Linked DNA regions of Homo sapiens: regions 1, 2, 3, 5 and 6 are each linked to region 4. The links are contacts of gene promoters, found by promoter capture Hi-C in blood cells and fetal thymus (Javierre and others, 2016). All regions are on one chromosome and are shown on one strand. Each heading gives the region's core, a stretch centred on a gene start or on the middle of the fragment in contact. The rest is flanking DNA. Distances are from core to core; before and after follow the strand shown.

Region 1 (3,132 bases), core at 449-2,948, 440 kb before region 4:
CTAGGAAGTCTGATGGGTCTCCTGCCATGCCCGGAATGCATTTAAGGTGGTTTGTACCATGCATGAACTTAAAAGCAATGCTGGCCCACTGCCTTGAGGTCTCTGCAGGACTCTTCCAGGGCAGTGAAAGGGAGGGGACCTAGGAACCGTGGGAGTCAGATTTGGGATTCGGGCAAGAAGGGAAGTTTCATAATCTGATGGACCCACAGAAGACCTGGCTGTTCTGGGAGAGATGCAGGCCCAGATGATGACCTTTGGAGGTGCCATGCCTGAAAAACTGATATGAAGATGCTCTCCCCCAAATAAGTGACTCAGAATACAAATAATACCTAAACTGTAAAACATAAAACTTGCATGTATGCTGAAATTAAAATAGCTCTTAGGTTCTTGTTTTGTGCAAAACTCTGACTATGCCTATGGAGGCCAGTTCCCACTCCCTCACTCTCTCAGCCTGTCTTGCTGGTACACTCAATGGAGTCAGGTGGCCGTAGGTCAGGCCCTGTGCTAAGCCCTTCACCTCCTGTATGTGGTGGCAGAACAGCTGTGTGGTTCAGAACATGGTTGCTGGTTCAAATCTTGGCTCTGTCCCTTAACATCTAGAACTTTCTTACTTTTCTGGGGGTGATGAATACCATGTTACCTGCCTCTTCAGATAGAAAATATGAACACAGCACTTAGAACAATTCCCAGCATGGTGTGAGCAGATGGTAAATGCACTGCTATTTTCCATTCTTCGCAGTATCTCCATGGTGTAGGTATTCGTCCACCCATTTTGCAGATGAGGAAAATTGAGCCTTGGGGAGATGGAGTGATTGGTTCAAGGTATCACAGAGAGGGAAGGACAGAGCTGGGACTGAAACCCAGAGCTGTGCTCTTTTACAGAACCACACTGCTCCCACCATGAAAGAGTGAGCTTCCCATCACTGCAGATGAGCCAGCTGAGGGGAGATGCTAGTCAACAGGGATGTGGCAGGGGACATTTGTCTATTGGATATTAGTGGATGTGATGATTCAGAATTCCTGAAGGAGTTCAGGGAAGGAAGTTTCCTTCTTCTCTGAAGAAGCTTGAGGAAATAACTCCTTAGGTTGTCAGAGATGGAGGCACTCTAAGATATCAGCTCATCTGGCCCCCTGTTTTTCATATGGGGAAACAGGTCTGGAGAGAGTGTCGTGATTTGTAAGGATCACACAGCAAGTCAGTGACAGAGCCTGGACTGAGCGGGGAGTCATATTTTGTCCACAGACCAACTGCAGGTGAGACCCTCATGTACGGCAACAGATGCCAGGGCACCTCATGTGTCAGAACATTCACCATTCACTCCAGGCTGTCTTGACCAGGTGCCTACATTACAGTCACTTCTTCTTCCTCTTTTCTTTTTTTTTTTTTTTGAGACAGAGTCTCATTCTGTCACCCAGGCTGGAGTGCAATGGTATACAGTCACTTCTTAGTGACCTTTTAAAGCTATTTACATCTTGAGGCTGTAAAGTCAGCAATCTTGAGGCTGTAAAGTCAGCAAAGTCTGAGGGAACAATCTCCCCCTCTCCCTTCAGACCCCAGATACAAGTTTGGGGATCTCCAGGGCCACCATCAGTTCATACTGACTGGCTACAAACAAGGGGGTTCCTATGATTATCCTCATACTCAATAATTCACTAGAAAGACTCACAGAACTCACTGAAAGCTATTCTACTCAAGTCACATTGATTACAAGCAAAGAATGCGAATCAGAACCAGCCAAGGGAAAGGGACATAGGAAGGAATCTGGGAGGGTTCCAAATGCTAAACACCCGTGTCCTCGGTATCTGTTACCTTGCCAGCATTGATAAGTAACAGTATGACAAAGTATGGCCAACCAGGGAAGCTAACCAGTGCTTCAGTGTCCAGAGTTTTTATTGGGACTTCATTATGTAGAGGTGATTGATTGAATCATTTCCCACATGGTTGAACTTAACCTCCATACCCCTCCCCACACCCAAAGGTCAGGCTGACATCACATAGCCCAAAGCCCCAATCTTTTAACCCTGTGGTTGATTTTTCTGGCATGGCCAGCACTCACTATAAGCCATCTGGTTAGCATAAGCTGTGAGTTGTGGTCCCAGGAGCCCACCATGAATAACAAAGACACTCCTGTTAATCAGGATATCCTAAGGGTTTAGAAATTACTTCCTAGGAGCCAGGACAAAAATCAGACCTCTCCCTCAAGGCCCAGTTGCTAACTACACAACCCTGTATCTCTTCCTATCCACAGCTTCTCCACTAGACTGAGTTCCTTAAGAGAGGGGCTATCTGTGATTCATCTCTATATCCATGCATTAGTTAGTGTAAGCTTGGCTGAGGTAATTGACTCCACAGTTTATAATTGCTATACACCATATAAGTTTGTCATAGAATAGCTGTCCCTCATCATAATGATTCAGGGACCCAGGTTTTTTCCATCTGTGGTTCTACATATCCTAGGGCTTTTTTGGTCTCTGCATCTGCCAAAGGAAAAGGAAAGAGAGTATGGAGGATGGAATTTGCTTCCTAAAAACTTTCACCAGGAAAACAGCACACATCACTTCTGCTCATATTCCACTAGCCAGAGCTCAGTTGTTTGGCCTCAACTAGCTTCAAGGGAGGCTGGGAAATACGGACTACATGTGTCCTCAGGGAGAAGAGAAGGATGTGGGTTTTGGTAAACAGACAAGACAGTACAGCCTGTAGTACCATCCCCATTGTCCCACTTAGGTCTCGGGGCAGAGTAGACATTCAGTGAGTGCTTATTGAGGAAATGGATATGGTGGCCATAAGAGGCAGTATGGTTGGGGAGTGGGGATGGGTTGGGGCTTTGGAATTGGACAGACCTAGTTTCTAATCCTGGCTATATCACTTCTTTGCTGTATGTGGAAGATGCCATCACTGATTGGATTCTGCAGGAGCAGACACTGAGAGTCACCTAAGCTGCAAGATGTTTATTAGGGATCAAAACCTGTGAAAGGAAGGAGGAAAATGCAGAACAGGGCAGAGGAAGAAGTCTAACTTGATGCAGGCCTGACAAAGTCCAACCCAGTGGGAGCTCCAGAGCAAGGATTGCTTGTAGAGCATCTCCCATTGGGCTTTTATACCCCTCCCTTGCTCTGTTACTGGGTGAT
Region 2 (3,355 bases), core at 262-2,761, 330 kb before region 4:
TAAATTAGTTCAACCATTGTGGAAAGCAATATAGCAATCACTCAAAGAACAAAAAGCAGAACTACCATTCAACCCAGCAATCCCATTACTGGATATATACCCAGAAGAATATAAATCATTCTTCCATAAAGACATGTGTACACAAATGTTCATTGCAGGACTATTCACAACAAACATGGAATCAACCTGAATGACCATCAAGGACAGATTGGATAAAGAAAATGTTGTATGTGGTACATATACACCATGGAATACTATGCAGTCATAAAAAAGAATGACATCATGTCTTCTGTAGGAACATGGATGGAGCTGGAGGCCATTATCCTTAGTAAACTAATGCAGGAACAGAAAAGCAAATACCACATGTTCTCACTCACAAGTGAGAGCTAAGTGATAAGAACTCATCAACACAAGAAAAGGAAAAACAGACACTGGGTTCTACTTGAGGGTGGGAGGAGGGAGAGGAGCAGAAAAAATAACTAATGGGTACTAGGCTGAATACCTGGGTGACAAAATAATCCGTACATCAAATCCCCACGACACAAGCTTACCTATATAACAAACCTTCACACGTACCCCTGAACCTAAAATAAAAGTTTAAAAAAAGCCATCTCTGCTAAAAGACTGTAGTGCGATTCAGTGTTTCTCAACTCTGTTTTCACAACAGAAAATGACATCTTATCAAAACTCCAAACCCCAACAACTGGAGCTGAGCTCCTAGCACTGTAACTTCTTATCACGGGTATAGTGATTTTATGAATTCTGCGGGGAATGAAATGCAATTTTGTCAGGCTTGTCTGTGTCCATAATGACCGAGTCAAATTAATCATCTCAGATAATACCCCTATGTCACCCACCCCAGACATGTTTAATAGAATCTTTCTGATTCGAGTCTCACCATACATCAGATCTGGAGTATTGTAGCACTTCTGAAAATCAGGACAATTATGCCTTTTGCTTGGCCTGTCATTTTCCTGGACTAAAAATGCTTCTTAAAAAATAAAAAACTAAAAGTCCATACCATATATAAGCCAAACAGGAGAGAAAAGCCATACCGGTAAAATGAAGCGTGGATTCTGGAGGAGGTGGGGGAGGGGAATGTAATATCTTTTCTCAGCCTTTATCTACAGGCAGAACCTCCAAGCCGAGCCAGGCCACTCACACAGGAGTGCATCTAACACCCTCCCACCGGCAGTGTGCCACGCTGCCAGCCACGGCTGCTCTGTGGCTGTTCCTGACCCCGAAATGCTTGGATCAGGGCAGACAGAGGCATCATAGTGGGACAATGACAGGCAGTCACATTAGACAGGAGTTTTGTTGACTAAAACCCTATCTGGGAACAAACATGATAATCCCCATGTGTTCTCGCTCAGGACACAATCTGACTCAAGCTAAGGTTTCAGCAGCATCCTGGGTGATTCACCGGGCAGGGACGGGGAGGCTCTGGAAAGATACATGATTGGTGGGTGGGTTTGGGGGTCCTTTTCTTTAGGAAGCAGCAGTCCCAGCAGAACTTAAGTAGCAAAAGTCGCAAGGCTGGGGATAACTTGTGGGCAACAGCATCTGAATGAGAAGAGGCAGCCTGAAGCAGGCACTGGCCCCATTTTACAGATAAGGAAGCTCAGTTTTCCAATAAGTGGTAGTCTTTTTTTTTTTTTTTGGAGACAGGGTCTGGCTCTGTCACCCAGGCTAGAGTGCAATAGCATGATCTTGGCTCACTGCAGCCTCTGACTCCTGGGCTCAAGCTATCCTCCCACCTCAGCCTCCTGAATAGCTGGGACTACAGGCACGAGCCAACACACCTGGTTAATTTTTTTTGTAGAGATGGGTTTTTGCCATGCTGCCCAGGCTGGTCTCAAACTCCTGAGCTCAAGCGATCTACCCACCTTGGCCTCCCAAAGTGCTGGGAGTATAGGCATGAGCCACCGTGCCAAACTGTTTTTGTTTTTTTAATTGAATTTTCTTTTTCGAGACAGGGTCTTGCTCTGTTGCCCAGGCTGGAGCACAGTGGCATGATCACAGCTCACTGCAGCCTCAATCTCCCGGATTCAAGCGATCTTCCACCTGAGACACCCAAGGAGCTGGGACTACAGGCGTGTGCCACCATGTCCTACTATTTTTTATTTTTTTGTAGAGACCGGGTCTTGCTATATTGCCCAGACTGGTCTCAAACTCCTGGCCTCAAGCAATCCTCCCTGCTTTCCATTCCGAAGTGCTGGGATTACACGCGTGAGCTACTGTGCCCAGCCTCAAATTACATTTTTATAGCTACATATCCAACTGCCTCTTTGATACTTTACTTCCCTTGGATGTCCTACACAAAAGCCCAGCAAACTTTTTCTGCAGATAATATGTATTTTTGGCTTTGTGAGTCATATGGTCTCTGTCAGAACTATTCAACTCTATTGCTATAGCATGAAAGTAGCCACAGGCAATATTTAAACTTAGGAGGATCCCATGTTCCAGTAAAGCTTTATTTACACAAAACAGGTGGAGGGTCAGATTTGGTCCAAGGGCCATGATTTCTTTGACACGTCCAGAACTGAGCTTGTGGTCATCCTTGTACCCACCAAGTCCATTTCCCCCTCAGTATTCCTCTACCGGTGGCTCAAGCTGGGTACCTGGGAGAGATGTTCAATTCCTCCCTCTCTCATCCCCATCTCCAATCAATCACAAAGTCCTGTCAGCCCCACCTCCCCATGTATCTCAAATCTTCCCACCACAATCCATCTGCAGAGCAACCATCCTAGTCCAAGCGGTCATCACCTCCCACAAGGACTGCTGTAATCACCTCCTCAATGATCTCCTAACTTCTAATCTCTTTCCTTCCAAATTGTTCTCCATAGCAGCCAGGGTAGAGGTTCCACACACAAAACTGATGGTGATACTCCCATTAGCTGATGTCCTCTACGCTCAGGATACAGTGTGTGTGAAACCCTCTCTGTAGCCTGCAAAGTCCTGCATGATCCGGCCCAGTCTCCTTCCAGTCTCACCTCCTATGACACCCCCTCATCGCTATGGCCAGCCTGGATGGTGTCTGACATGCCACGTGCCTTCCTCATTCAGCGGGGACTCGAACATCACTCCCAGGTTCCCATCTCGAGCCACTGGTGGAGGAATACTGAGGGGAAAACATGCTTGGTGGGTATAAGGAGGACCACGAGCTCAGTTTTGGACATGTCAACATTCCTAAATCAGTTCGGATCAGCAAATCACAGGCCGTGGACCAAATCTGGCCCTCCACCATTTTTTCTTTTTTTTTTTTTTTTTGTAAACCCTACACGAATGTGTTTCATGTTCTAAAACCAGCATTACCTCTGCCATTTTTCTATTGTTTTATTCTATGTGTTTGCAT
Region 3 (3,295 bases), core at 190-2,689, 500 kb before region 4:
AAACTGGGATGACTGGTCACCCTACAGTCTTTTCCCATGAAGTGAAAGGAGCCAACCTTTGTTGAGAGCCCGAGATCTCTGCTAGATAAACCATGTAATACAGCAACCTTGCAAAGGAAACTTGCTATGCTCACTTTACTGAGAGGAGACAGACTCAAAGAGACCTTATTCAAAGCCTGTGCTTATTAATGCATTTGACAGTATCTGTTGAATGTCTTCCATGTGTGAGTCCCTGCATGGAGTGCTGGGGATGCTGTGGTGGGCGAGTCAGACCTGTCCCTGCCCCCAAGTGCATGTATCTTAACAGCAGAGACCGGCATCTAACAATTACTTAAATACAAAATGTGATACATATTTTGAAGGAAAAATAGAAGAATTTATGAACTGATAACAGGGAAACCTGGTCTGGTCTGATAATCAGAGAAGGCGTCCTTGAGGAAGTGATGTTTGAGCTGAGATATGCAGGATGAATAGAGGTAAACTGGGTGACAGGGGAGGCCGCACAGGCAGGCAGAAGGGACAGCAAATGCAAAGGCTTGGAGGTGGGACCTGAGCATGCTGTGTTCCAGAAAAGGCTGGAGCACAGACTCAGAGAGAGAGAGTGGGGTGGACGAGGCTGGAGAGATTGGCAAAGCCCAGATCATGAGGGTTTTGTGGGTCACAGTGAGGAGCTTGAACTTCATCCTTCTAGTAGATTCTAGGCTACCCCTTCAGACACTCCTTAGGACCAGGGACACATTCCCCGAGCTGCCAGGAGTGTTAGCAGCTGACAGATCCTGGCTGGGTATTTCTCTCCAACAAAGGGAGCTGCCTCCTTCACATCTAATGACTGTAATGACCTGGCCCCCTTGCTTTGATTTTGGGCAACGCTGAAGGGCTATACCAGCTTAAATCCCCCTGGGATCAGTTGAATATTCTGTTGCAGATGTTCAGCTTCCTCCACTGCCAAATCCTGCTTCCTTCCTTACACGTGCTCTTCCTGAGAGCACTCCCCGCTAAATCTCCCACACATCATCTCAGCTTCAGAATCTTTTCCCTAGGGATCCTGACCTGAGACACTCCTCAAGGCACTGGGAAGTTACTGCAGGGTTTTGAGATGGGGAGTAACCTGCTGAGAGTTGCATCTTATGAAGAAGATGAGTGGCAGCAGCAAAGGGTCAACTGAAGTGGGGGGCAGGGAGGATACTACTGTCATCATCGAGGGAGAAAAGGATGTGGCTTGGACTAGACAGATAGGGTGGAGACCAAGAGAATTAAGGAGTATCGCAGTGCGTCATCATGAGAGTCATTTAAATTCTTAGTTTCAGTTTTTCCAATTGTAACATCGAAATGATGATGCCTGTATCTGTTAGGATACTTTCTTATCTATTCATTTTAACAATATATTGAGCAAAATTAAAGAGATATTCAGAGTCAGGTCTATCTGAAGACCATGTGATTTCCATTATTCTTTGCTACCTCCAAAGCTGTCTTAGCCCTGGCTTACTTTCTCTGGGATGCTGGGTCCATAGTCTTTATCAAGGTGGGTTAGAGCCAAGCTATGAGTCCCTTATAATCAGGAGCATCTGTGTGGTGTCTGTGGCATGGGCATGTGTGCTGACCACAGTGAGCATTTCTGGTTCACCTGGTCTGATCTTGGTATGCTTGGACAAGAGCCATTAACCCCTGGACTCTCTGATGCTCACTCTGTATCTGCCATGCTCCATCTTAAACACTGTCTGAAATTTGTTGATGACACTTCTATGGGCCACCCAAAGATCTTATGCCAACATCTGGTACTATGTGAGAGGACTTGGAGAAGGATCAGCGATGGCTGGTAGACAAAACAGGCAAGATAAAGACAAGAGAGCTGCCATGGGAAGTAAGAAGTGATAAATGTCTTGGGCAATGAGAATTTGGAGGAAGGAAGGTGGTTCCCTGAAGGAGGTGGTTTGAAACTGGGCTATGAAGGATTTGGGAAGACAAGGCTGAGAAAGTGACTTGGAACCAGGTCATGAAGGAACTGGACTATCAGGTAAGGACTTCTATAGGCAATGGGGACTCCTAGAAAGGAGCTAGTCCTCGTTCCTTCTCTCCATCTCTGTTCAGTTCTCCAGTGTGTTAGTCTGCTTTCTGTTACTTATAACAGAATACCTGAAACTGTGTAGTTTATAAGAAACAAAATGTATTTCCTAGAGTTCTGGAGGCTAGGCAGTCCAAGGTCAAGGGGTCATATCAGGAGTGGCATTCTTACTGGTGGAGACTCTCTGCAGAGTCCCAAGGTGGCACAGGGTGTCATGTGATGAGAGGGCCGAGTGTGCTAGCTCAGATCTCTCTTCCTCTTCTTATAAAGCCACCAGCCCCACTCCCATAACCAATTAAACCATGAATCCATGAGTGGATTAATCACCTCTTAAAGGCCCCACCTCTCAATACTGCCACATTGGGGATTAAGTTTCAATTTGAGCTTTTTAGGGGGACAAACATTAAACCGTAGCACCGAGGCACACTGATCTTCCAACCTCAGATAGTTCCCTGGAAATAGGAAGGTGTCACTGGCCAGATGGGATGGTGTTCTCAGTGTCCATTCTGTATTTGGAGGCAGAATCCTGGTCTGGCCCATATGTCTCTTTGATGTCTCAAACTGGATTCTGGATCTCCCAGCTTTTCCTTGGTGTCTTAGTCAATTTTGTGTTGCTGTAAAAGAATACCTGAGGGCCAGGCGTGGTGGCTCATGCCTGTAATCCCAGCACTTTGGGAGGCCAAGGCAGGCGGATCATGAGGTCAGGAGTTCGAGACTAGCCTGGCCAATACAGTGAAAAACCCCGTCTCTACTAAAACTACAAAAAATTAGCTGGGCATGGTGGCAGGAACCTGTAGTCCCAGCTACTTGGGAGGCTGAGGCAGGAGAATTGCTTAAACCCAGGAGGCGGTGGTTGCAGTGAGCCAAGATCACACTACTGCACTCCAGCCTGGGCAACAGAGAAAGACTCTATCTCAAAAAAAAAAAAAAAAAAAAATACCCAAGGCCAGGTAATTTACAAAGAAAAAAGGTTTATTTGATTAACGATTCTGGTGGCTGGAAAGTTCAAGGTGGAGCATCTACCTCTGATAAGGGCCTCAGGCTGCTTCCACTCATGGCAGAAGGTGAAGGGGAGCTGGTGTGTGCAGAGATCACATGGCAAGAGTGGAAGCAAGAGTGAGAGTGAAAAGGTGCCAGGCTCTTTGTAACAACCAGCTCTTGTGGGAATTAACAGAGCAGAAACTCACTCACCCCCAAGGGAGGGCATTAATCTATTCATGAGGGATCTGCCCC
Region 4 (3,555 bases), core at 1-2,500:
CCCGACGTGGTGACACGTGCCTGAAGTCCCAGCTACTCGGGAAGCTGAGGCAGGAGAATCGCTTGAACCTGGGAGGCGGAGGTTGCAGTGAGCCAAGATCGCGCCACTGCACTCCAGCCTGGGCATCAGAGCGAGACTCCTTCTCAAAAAAAAAAAAAAAAAAAAAAAAGAGGGAACGAAGGTTATCTGAGCTGCAGCGATCCAGGCAGGGAAGAGGTCAGGACCCCACTGTCCTGTCTCCCAGGCAGGCTGAAAAGCTTGGAGCTCAGGCCCCAGGCGCACAGGTGTAAGACAGGGATCTGGAGCCACAGACCTGGCTCCGGGCTCAGCTCTGCCACTTAAGTCTCTGGGGAAATAAGTAAAATGGAGACCGCAGTTCCTGCCTTTGCCCCAGGGACTCTCTCTCTCCCCCGCACCTTCAACCCCAGCTGCCCAAAACTCCTCGTGGGAACAGGAAGAGAGGTCTCAAACCGAACCAAGCTGGGGCGCGGAACCCAGGTGGGAGAGACAAAAGAGCCCCCAACTCAGCACCCTTCTCAGTCCAGGGGAGAGGGCTTGGGGGACTCTGTGCTCCCCGGAATGTTAAGGAGCAAAGCCCACCCACCAAGTTGACCCAAAACTAGGCTGCAACAAGTGCCTCCCAGGCTCGGTCTCCCACTGGCTGGGACTTGAAGACTCCCTCTCGCTCCCAGGGGTCGCCTCCCTCGCCGGCGAAGGCCCTGCCAGCTGACACCGGCCGGCCCACCCCCATCCCGCAATTAGGCGGGAGACAAAATGACATCATGCACGGCTTGGCCCGGGTCCCAAGAGACCCGCCCGTCCCAGCTCCGAGGCCCAACAGGCCTGGGGAGCCGCGAGGGACGCCCAAGAGCCCCCCAGCTTTACGCGCGCCCCTGCCTCAGAGGGCCCAGGACGCAGCATTTCCGCGGAAACACCCCACCCCCAACACACACACACACCCCAGCTTGGTGGGAGCCTGGGGAGGGTCGGGGGTATCTGGGTGGGGGAGGGGTGAGTTAAAGGGAGGGGGAGGGGCCCAAGCCCTCCCGGCTCGTCTCACCAGCGCGTCCGCCGAGACATCCCCCCGGCCCGGACCGCGCCGCGCTCGCCCGCCCGCCGGCAGAGCCCGGAGCGGGAGCCGGGCCGGGGTCAGGACCCGGGCTGCTCCGGCCGCTCCGGGCCCCGGGCCGCGCTCGAAGGCGTCAGCGTGTCAGCAGGTCCCGCGCTCCTCGCTCGCAGGAACTGCAGTCGCCGCCGGCGCGGGTTGAAGCACTTTTCTATCTCCCGCCAAGCGCGTCGGCGCCGCCCAGTCCTGGCGCGCGGGCGCCGGGGGAGGGGCCTGAGTGAGGGGCGGAGCCAGGGGGCGGGGCGGGGCGGGGCCTGCGGGGCGGCACCTGCCCAGACCCTCCAGGGCCGGCTGCAGGACAGGGGCGGCGGCCGCTACTTCGGAGTTGTGGAGCGGGCCGGGATGTGACCGAGGCCTGGCTCACGTGTCAGTCCGGGGCGGCCCAGGAGTATCCCACATAGCGAAGACCGAGGAAGGGGAGCGAGGCGCGAGCATGGGAGAGCCAGCCAGGGAAAGCGCCAGGGCGGAATCCCCCACGCTAGTCCAAGCCACTACTGGGTCCCTAGAGCCGCACCCTAAAGCGGCTCCTCACCCTACCTGTGCCTCTCCCTGCTTCCTCTCCTGCCTCCAAGAGACCCTCCTTAATAGACTTTATTTTTTGTTGTTCATTTTTCTTAGAGGCAGGGTCTTGCTCTGTCGCCCAGGCTGGAGTGCAGTTTCGCGATCATAGCTCACTGCAACCTCCACCTCCTAGGCTCAAGCGATCCTCCTACCTCAACTCACGGGTAGCTAAGACCAGGCACTCGCCACTACACCCGGCTGATTTTTTTTTTTTTTTTTTTTGAGACGGTGTCTCGCTTTGTCGCCAGGCTGGAGTGCAGTGGCGCGATCTTGACTCACTGCAACCTCCACCTCCCGGGTTCAAGCGACTCCCCCGCCTCAGCCTCCCAAGTAGCTGGAACTACAGGCGCACACCACCACGCCCGGCAATTTTTTTTTTTTTTTTTTTTTTTTTTTAGTATTTTAGTAGAGACGAGGTTTCACCATGTTGGCCAGGATGGTATAGGTCTCCTGACCTCGTGATCCGCCCGCCTCGGCCTCCCAAAGTGCTGGAATTACAGGAGTGAGCCACTGCGCTTTTTTTTTTTTTTTTAAGAGAAGGGGGTGTCTTGCTATGTTGCTGTTGCCTAGACTGGTCTAGAAACTCCTGGGCTCAAGAGATCCTGCCGCTTTGTCCTCCCAAAGTGCTGGGATTGCAGGCGTGAGCTCTTTCCAGAATTTAAAACCATCCTCCTCTCCCTCAGGGTAAATTCCTTACTCCACAATCACATTTATCTGATCTTCCAGACCACCACCCAGCCCTGGCCAAAAGAAACGGCCTCTTTGCCTTTGCCTGAGCCATTACCCAGGGCAGGAACACTTCCTGCCCCTCCCACGTGGCTGATTCCTATTTAATTTGGGGTCCACTGCCCACAATCTGCCTGTAGACTTCTGCATTTCCCCCTTTGAACTGGGAGCATCCTGAGGTCCAGGTGGCCTCTCAATGCACACCAGTATCTCCAGGGCCCAGTAGAAGACCTGACATAAGAAGCCCCAGGCAAAGGTTTGTTGCATTGAATTGTTTACCTTGGGTTTAAACTCCCAGAGATTAGCCCAGATTTAGTGGCTCATGCCAGTAATCCTAGCAGTTTGGGAGGCCGAGGTGGGAGAACTGATTCAGTCCAAAAGTTTGAGACCAGCCTGGGGATCAGAGTGAGACCCTGTCTTTACAAAAAATTAAGAAATTACCTGGCTGTGGTGGTGAATGCCTGTAATCCCAGCTACTTGGGAAGCAGAGGCAGGAGGATTGCTTGAGCCCAGGAGTTCGAGGGGCTCAAGCCCTTGTCATCCCGCCACTGCACTCCAGCCTGGGCGACAGACAGTGAGACTGTCTTTCCTTGAGATTTAGCAAAGGTTTTCTATATTAGATTGACATTTACCAAGTACCAAGGATCAAGTCACACTGGACTTCCTGGGAGCAGTGCTGAGAGGAAGATAAATGAGCTCTGAGACAGGACGCTGAAGAAACCAAATCAAACCCCAGCCTTTTAGCCCCTGTTCAGGCCTCAGAGCCCCCTTCCAGAAGCTGCTGGCCACCTGGGGACAGTCCAGCCACCAGCTGCTGCAAACTTCACTTACCACAGAAGGAAGACTAACTCACATCTTAAGTGCTAGAAGCTTCCACATCACTTAATTCAGGGTTTCTCCCGCCCACTCCCCTTATAAAGTAATTAATGTGGACATGCCCACTTCATTGAAAGCACAGCCTCCACAGCCAAACTTCCTGGGGTTTGAGTCCCAGCTCCACCATTCAGTTGCGGTATCTTAGGCAAATTACTTAACTTTTTTTTTTTTTTTAGACCAAGTCTTGCTTTATTGCCCAGACTGGAGTGCAGTGGTGTGATCTTGGCTCACTGCAACCCCCACTTCCCGGATTCAAATGATTCTCC
Region 5 (3,526 bases), core at 1,018-3,517, 400 kb before region 4:
GAGCTCTGGAAGGAGACAGATATCAGTCACTGGAGAACAGAAGAGGGATGAGCCAGAACATGGGCTGTGAGGCCAGGAGGCTCTGCAACCCACTGACACGGCTGCTGGCTGGCTGTCTTGGGAGAGAGCTTGGACTAACCAGAGATAGCACAGGGTCCTTAGTCCCCTTGGCTCTGACCATCCAGTCACCTACTGCTTTTATCTTTGGGGGGCTCCCCTGCCCTTGGGGGAATCCATGCTCCTCAGCCTGGCCAGTGAGACAAGCACCATCCCACTGAGCCAGCTCTAATCATGCTCCTTCCAACCTCTGTGCCTTTGTAGATGTTTTTCCCTTGACTTTGAACCACCTTTTACTTGGCCTGTTATAGACCAGTTTGGATGCCATCTCTTCTGTACCAGGAACAACACCCACCTCCACTTGGGCCACGCATCCGCAGCCACACTTAGCTTCCTACGTTGCTGGTGTTGACAGAGGAGGCCGACGGTGTGGTGAGGAGGTGCCATATTTTGGGGTAGCGTGTCCCAAGCCCCATCAGCGGTCAGAAGTGAAGGCCACATAAAACTGGCAAAACTGGGTTTGAATCCTAGTGCGGCCACTTTAACAAACTGGATCTTTTCAGGCAAGTTGCTCAACCCCTCTGGGTGCTGGGTTCTTGTTGGAAGAAGCCAATGAAATGCATGTAAAGTGCCCAGAATGAGCCTGGCATGCTGTAGGTGCCCTGCAGACATGACCATGTAGGTCTGAGCCATTCTTTCTAAGACCTGGGGTGCCGGCCCTTCCCACGGGCCCCAGTTCTTGCTCCATTCCTCAAGTGGCCCCACTCTGATCAGGGCTGTGCCTGGAGATTCCGGGTGTTACCTTGGAGACGAGGCTAGCCCGGTAGGCTGCCAGGGCCTTCAGATATTCCTTCTTTGCTGCTTCTGTCTTCCTCTTGTAGGCCTGGAAGAGTCAACACATGAGCAACACTGGGGAGAAAGTTACAGAGGAGATGCCGTGCAGGGTCCTGGGGTGGGAAGGCATGGATTCAAGGATCACGAATGGACGAGGGTGGTGGGGTCAGAAGCTGAGTCAGCCAGCCACTGGCCCCTTTCTGGGAGCGCTGCAGAGAAATTGTGGAGACCAGGCCATATCCCAGTTCCTCAGCCAAGTCACTGTGTGGCCTTGGCCAACATGCTTCATCTCTCTGGGCCTCCAGGTTCTATCAGCACAACTGATCACAGAAAGACAATGCCCTTTGAAGCCCCCATTCTGAGCCAGCACAGTGCAGATTTCTTAATGCCGAACCACCTTCGCAACCTAGAATGAACCTACTTGTTCATAGTATGTTAGTTTGGATTCGGTTTGCTAATATTTTTTATTAAAAATTTTAGACCTAGGTTCATATGTTATTGTAGGACTGGTCCCAGTTTGTTCGCACCTCCTTGTTTCCATGGCTTTTGGTAGAAACGAGGAGGTGCAAATGACTTGGAGCTTAGCCTTGTGTGACTTGTGTTGGCCAATAAGACAAGCACAAATGTGATGCATGCAGAGACTGACAAAGTGATCACATATTGGTGAGCCCTCTTGCTACTCTTGGAACTCTTATTTAAAAATTTTTTTTGTATATGAATAAGTTCTTTAATGGTGATTTCTGAGATGTTGGTGAACCTACCACCTGAGCAGTGTACACTGTACCTGATGATAGTCTTTTATCCTTCACTACCATCCTTTTCCCCAAGTCCCCAAAGTCCATTGTATCATTCTTATGCCTTTGTGTCCTCATAGCTTAGTTCCCACTTATGAGAACATACAATGTTTGGTTTTCCATTCCTGAGTTACTTCACTTAGAATAATTGTCTCCAATTCCATCCAGGTTGCTGCAAATGCCATTATTTCCTTCCTTTTTATGGCTGAGTAGTATTTCATGGTGTTTGTGTGTGTGTGTGTGTACATATATATGTATATGTGTGTGTGTGTACATATATATGTGTGTATATATATGTAGCACATTTTCTTTACTCATTGATTGATGGGCATTTGGGCTGGTTCCATATTTTTGCAATTGCAAATTGGGCTGCTACAAACATGTGCAAGTATCTTTTTTGTAAAATTTCTTCTCCTCTGGGTGGATACCAAGCAGTGGGATTGCTGGGTCAAACAGTAGATCTACTTTTAGTTCTTTGGGGAATTTCCACACTGTTTTTCACAGTGGATGTACTAGTTTATATTCCCACCAACAGTGTAAAAGTGTTCCCTTTTTGCCACATCCATGCCAACATCTATTTTTTGATTATGGACATTCTTGCAGGAGTAAGGTGGTTTTGATTTGCATTTCCCTGATCATAATGATGTTAAGTATTTTTTAATATGTTTGTTGGCCATTTGTATATTTTCTTTTGAGAATTCTCTATTCATCTCCTTAGCCCAATTTTTGATGGGATTGTTTTTTTCTTGCTGATTTGAGTTCCTTTGTAGATTCTGGATATTAGTCCTTTGTCGAAAGTATAGATTGTGAAGATTTTCTCCCACTCTGTGGGTTGTCTGTTTACCCTGCTGGTTCTTTTGCTGTGCAGCTTTTTAGTTTAATTAAGTCCCATCTATTTACCTTTGTTTTTGTTGCATTTGCTTTTGGGTTCTTGGTCATGAAGTCTTTGCCTAAGCCAATGTCTGTGGAAGGGTTTTTCCAGTGTTATCTTCTAGAATTTTTAGGGTTTCAGGTCTTAGATTTAAGTCTTCCATCCATTTTGAGTTGATTTTTGTATAAGGTGAGAGATGAGGATCCAGTTTCACTCTTCTACATGTGGCTTGCCAATTATCCAAGCACCATTTGTTGAATAAGGTGTCCTTTCCCCACTTCATGTTATTGTTTGCTTTGTTAAAGATCAGTTGGTTGTAAGGATTTGGCTTTATATCTGGGTTCTCTAATCTTTTCCATGGTCTATATGCCTATTTTTATACCAGTACCATGCTGTTTTGGTGACTATGGCCATATAGTTTGAAGTCGGGTAATGTGATGCCTCCAGATTTGTTCTTTTTGCTTAGTCATGCTTTGGCTATGAGGGCTCTTTTTTGATTCCACATGAATTTTAGGATTGTTTTTTCTAGTTCTGTGAAGAATGTTGGTGGTGTTTTGATGGGAATTGCATTTAATTTATAGATTGCTTTTGGCAGTATGGTCATTTTCACACTATTGATTCTACCCATCCATGAGCATGGGATGTGTTTCCATTTGTTTCATCTACGATTTCTTTCAGCAGTGTTTTGTAGTTTTCCTTGTAGAGGTCTTCCACCTCCTTGGTTAGGTATATTCCTAAGTATTTTATTTATTCATTTATTTATTTATTTATTTATTTATTTATTTATTTATTTTGCAGTTAAAGGGGGTTGAGTTCTTGATGTGATTCTCAGCTTGGTCACTGTTGGTGTATAGCAGATCTATTGATTTGTGTACATTAATTTTGTATCTTGAAACTTTGCTGAATTCATTTACCAGTTCTAGGAGCTTTTTGGATGAGTCTTTAGGGTTTTCTAGGTATATGATAATCC
Region 6 (3,478 bases), core at 399-2,898, 420 kb before region 4:
GCCTCGGCCTCCCAGAATGATGGGATTATAGGAGTGAGCCACCACACCCGGCCCCCAGTTAGTTTTGAGCTTCCTGCTTCTATGTATAGTCTCTTGCACGTGACTGTTTGTTTATATCCAGTGTGTTTTCATTCTCAGAAATTATCTTCTGCACATCCTTATATTTTTATTCTCTGCTTCCCTTAAAGGGTCATTTCCATGACAGAAGGAATGTTATTGTCTTCTCGAAGGCTGTATCCCCAGTACAGAGAATAGTGCCTGGCAATTAAGGAGTTAATTACAGGTGAAAGTTATGATGCAGCTAACAGACATAGAAAGGTATAAAATGAAAGAAGGGTGGGGAGGTAGAAGGGAGTTAAGTTCATCAATAGCAGTAGGGAGACAAAAGTTATAATAGAAAAGCTCAATTAATTGAGGTTTAAGTGCATTGTTTAAAGGTGTGATGTTTCTAAGGGGGGGGTGGAATCAAAGTAATCTTTCAAAACCTTTAGAGGAATTTGGGAAGAAGTAATGTCAGAGCTGATAAATCAAGAAAGAATGGTATAAATATATTACTTAGAGTTATACTAGGTAGTCATCAGGAATTACACTGTGAGAGTTGCGTTGGTGTGGAGAGAGGGGGTGGCAAATTACTGCTTTCTATAATAGGTCCGTAAATATTTAATTTCTAGCCATAGGGATGTATTGCTTTGATTAATTTTTTTCTAATAGAGGAATTCAAACACAGGAAGAAACCTTAGATAAATCTGTAAAGGACTAGGATGAGAGATTTCATTCATTAATTTTTGGGAAGCATGCGCATAGAGAAAGCGTCTCTTATTCTTTCTCAGATAGACACGCGTACATACGGAGTCGGTTCCCTTTCCTCTTGTGAATCATTTTGAACCAAGAATAATTAGAGCACCTTTGTATAGTACTTGGTATTTTGGATTTGCATTTTTTTTCCAGGGTTGGTGGTGGTTCTATTCCAATGTTTCAGGCCCTTAAAAAAGGACTTGTTTATAACATGAGTCCAGAAGCTGTCACATCAGAGGGCGTGTTCCCAGGCAGGTGGAGTGGGAAGGGACTTCCTGAGGCAGACACCAATGTTGTCCCTAAGTGGATGGCCCTTGTGGTTGTGGCATTTGAAGCCACAATGTCAGGAAGCGCATGGTCCCTCCTCTGTGTCTGGGGGCAGGAGAGAGGGCCTGACCATCGCTTATGCAGGCAAATAACTCCACCTATGGTGAGAATTGGCCTTGCAGAGTCTGAGGGCAGTTATCCAGGGTCACTATCTTGATCGTCACCAGCTGTGTCCAGTTGGAAAATCACCCTTCCAGCTTGTTCACTTCCAAATGTGGGACTGTGGGGCATTTCCTGGCAAGGCTGTGGACAAAGATCTGTCAGCCCAGGGCCTCAAAACAGCTGAGCTTCCAGCTCTGCAGCCTCTGCCTCCTTTTCCTCTAGGCATGGCCCAACATGCCTTTGCTGTGTACAGAAGGACATTTACCCTTTTTGGGAACTCTGGTTTCTGGTATGACCAGGTGTGGTGTTTGCACCCATGAAGTTAATATGTAGGTATAAGGTGAGGTTTCAGACATGGATTTGGGATTAGGACCAGTTAGAAACACCTATACATCACCTGTGATTCCCTTGGGAAGAGTCTGCTATTTGGGGGGGATAGCACCAACCCCCAGAAAGTGCCCCTTGGTGATTATCATGGGTCAAGGCATGTTTTATACACTCATGGTATGGATGAGAGCTTTTCAGACCTGCCAAATGTTGAACATCGTTTGATGTTTCTGAAAGGGAGCCTGTCTCTTGTGGATTGTGGTTCATGCACGTGGAATATTGTTTTCTGGTCATGTAACCAAGAGTTAAGTCTGCAAATACAGGTCAGTAATTGCTGGAGATGTCAGATAACCAGGTGTATCAGCTAGCTTATGCAGCACAACAAACCACCCCAGACTCTGTGACTTAATACAACAACTATTTATTGAGCTCACAGCTCTGTGGGATGGCAGTTTGGGGTAGGTTCATGTGGGCAGTTCTGCGATTTCGCCAAGTTTGGTTTATCTCAGCTGGAACTCACTCGTACATCTGAAGTTGGCTGCTGGATGGGCACAGGGCTTTCTGATGTCAGCTGGGGCACCTTCCTTTTCTCTGCAGGGTCTCTCATCATCCAACAGGCTAGCATGGGCTTGTTCTCATGGTGATGGGTCTGACCAAGAGCAGTGAGAGGGCAAGGCCAATGAGCAAGCACTTTTCAAGTTTCTGCTTGCATAATGTTTGCTGCTGTCTCATTGGCTAGAGCAAGTCACATGGCCAAGTCTGGCGTTCTTGTCAGAGTCATTAAACAAAATCAGAGCCGTTCCTGCAAGCTGTGCACAGCACCAGGGAACAGCTGACAAGGAGCCCAATGTTTCCATCCAAACATACCTCAGAGCAGGGAAAATGGCTCCTGTTATCCTAAAAGAAATCGTGGCTCCATTTTGCTGCTCCTCAACAATGTCATGTGTGAACCTCTGATCCCTTTGGTGGGAATGGTGATAATAAAAATAATGATTAGTGACATTGATAATGACAGCTAACCTTGTTTATCACATTCCAGACACTTCTAATTGCATACAAGGATTATCTCATTTAATTCTTAGAGCCATGAGAATAAGAAGCTACATATACCAACATTACATATATCTCAAAAACCTGTAAGTGGAAAATGATATTTATAGTATGAGAAATTTACATAAAATTCTAAAACACATAAAGCAATATTATATATCGTGGATATTTACATTTGTGTTTAAATAATGGAAATGATTAAAAAAACAAACTCGAAGCAGCTACTTTCAGAGGAGGATGGAAACTGGCAGAATGAAGCACATGGGAACTTTGACTATAACTGTGTGTGGGGAGTTGAGTTCTGACTGAAGTTTAAGATTGGTGGAGGTTGCCTAGGTGCTAGTTATATTCTCTCTGTACTGTTTATACATCTAAAATATTTCAGAAAGAAACTAGAGGTTGCTTCACCCACAAAAATACTTCATTGTATTAAAAATCTACACTAAAATCAATGGATCAATGGAATAAGATTTTTAAAATCCAGAAATGGACCCAATTTTCTAATTAAAGGAGTGTCACTCAAAAAGGTGAAATGGAACCTTTAATACATAGCAAAGAGACAACTGGGCAACCATTTGGGGAAAAAGTAAACTTAGATCCATGGCTCATACTTTGCACTAAAGTCACTCGCAAATGGATTGAAGATTTAAATATTTAAAATGAAAGTACAAAAAAGGTGGTGGTGAGCTCTCAGCCTCTGGGAATCACAGCTTTATAGAATGTGAGGTTTGGAAGTGACTTTATGGGTTACCTGTACCACAGGCATGCACTACCACACCTGGCTAATTTTTGTATTTTTAGTAGGGATGAGGTTTTGCCATGTTGGCCAGGCTGGTCCTGAACTCCTGGTCTCAAGTGATCCATCCACCTCGGCCTC

What was found. The method cuts DNA at HindIII sites, captures the fragments that hold promoters and counts their contacts. A CHiCAGO score of 5 or more calls a contact.
Region 1: a fragment that was not itself captured here is called in contact with the fragment with the promoter of MYBL2 in region 4 in 2 of 17 cell types (endothelial precursors and M1 macrophages); the score reaches 8.0 in endothelial precursors.
Region 2: a contact is called between a fragment that was not itself captured here and the fragment with the promoter of MYBL2 in region 4, in 1 of 17 cell types (neutrophils). The highest score is 6.0, in neutrophils.
Region 3: a contact is called between a fragment that was not itself captured here and the fragment with the promoter of MYBL2 in region 4, in 1 of 17 cell types (total CD4 T cells). The highest score is 5.1, in total CD4 T cells.
Region 5: a fragment that was not itself captured here is called in contact with the fragment with the promoter of MYBL2 in region 4 in 4 of 17 cell types (naive CD4 T cells, naive CD8 T cells, non-activated CD4 T cells and 1 more); the score reaches 7.3 in naive CD4 T cells.
Region 6: a contact is called between a fragment that was not itself captured here and the fragment with the promoter of MYBL2 in region 4, in 13 of 17 cell types (monocytes, M0 macrophages, naive CD8 T cells and 10 more). The highest score is 10.1, in monocytes.

What each region holds. Positions count from the first base shown.
Region 1 is chr20:44,106,890-44,110,021 of GRCh38, reverse strand. JPH2 (junctophilin 2) reads left to right here. Exons shown (of 6, transcript NM_020433.5): 6 at 1-3,132. Among named protein-coding and RNA genes, the nearest start is that of JPH2, 79 kb to the left of the region's middle. The HindIII fragment of the contact is 1,263 bases long and covers 1,067-2,329 here.
Region 2 is chr20:43,992,765-43,996,119 of GRCh38, reverse strand. The region is part of intron 2 of TOX2 (TOX high mobility group box family member 2); the gene reads right to left. Among named protein-coding and RNA genes, the nearest start is that of TOX2, 80 kb to the right of the region's middle. The HindIII fragment of the contact is 1,925 bases long and covers 549-2,473 here.
Region 3 is chr20:44,168,878-44,172,172 of GRCh38, reverse strand. All of the region lies in intron 1 of JPH2 (junctophilin 2), which reads left to right. Among named protein-coding and RNA genes, the nearest start is that of JPH2, 17 kb to the left of the region's middle. The HindIII fragment of the contact is 6,904 bases long and covers 1-3,295 here.
Region 4 is chr20:43,664,809-43,668,363 of GRCh38, reverse strand. MYBL2 (MYB proto-oncogene like 2) reads right to left here and starts at 1,250. Exons shown (of 14, transcript NM_002466.4): 1 at 1,061-1,250. The coding sequence starts at 1,080. RefSeq lists enhancers at 345-394, 1,161-1,455 and silencers at 1,045-1,424, 1,161-1,455. The HindIII fragment of the contact is 3,026 bases long and covers 260-3,285 here.
Region 5 is chr20:44,062,191-44,065,716 of GRCh38, reverse strand. TOX2 (TOX high mobility group box family member 2) reads right to left here. Exons shown (of 9, transcript NM_001098797.2): 6 at 860-940; 7 at 1-5. Among named protein-coding and RNA genes, the nearest start is that of JPH2, 120 kb to the left of the region's middle. The HindIII fragment of the contact is 7,560 bases long and covers 1-3,526 here.
Region 6 is chr20:44,088,947-44,092,424 of GRCh38, reverse strand. No RefSeq gene overlaps it. Among named protein-coding and RNA genes, the nearest start is that of JPH2, 97 kb to the left of the region's middle. RefSeq lists an enhancer at 2,142-2,436. The HindIII fragment of the contact is 7,388 bases long and covers 1-3,478 here.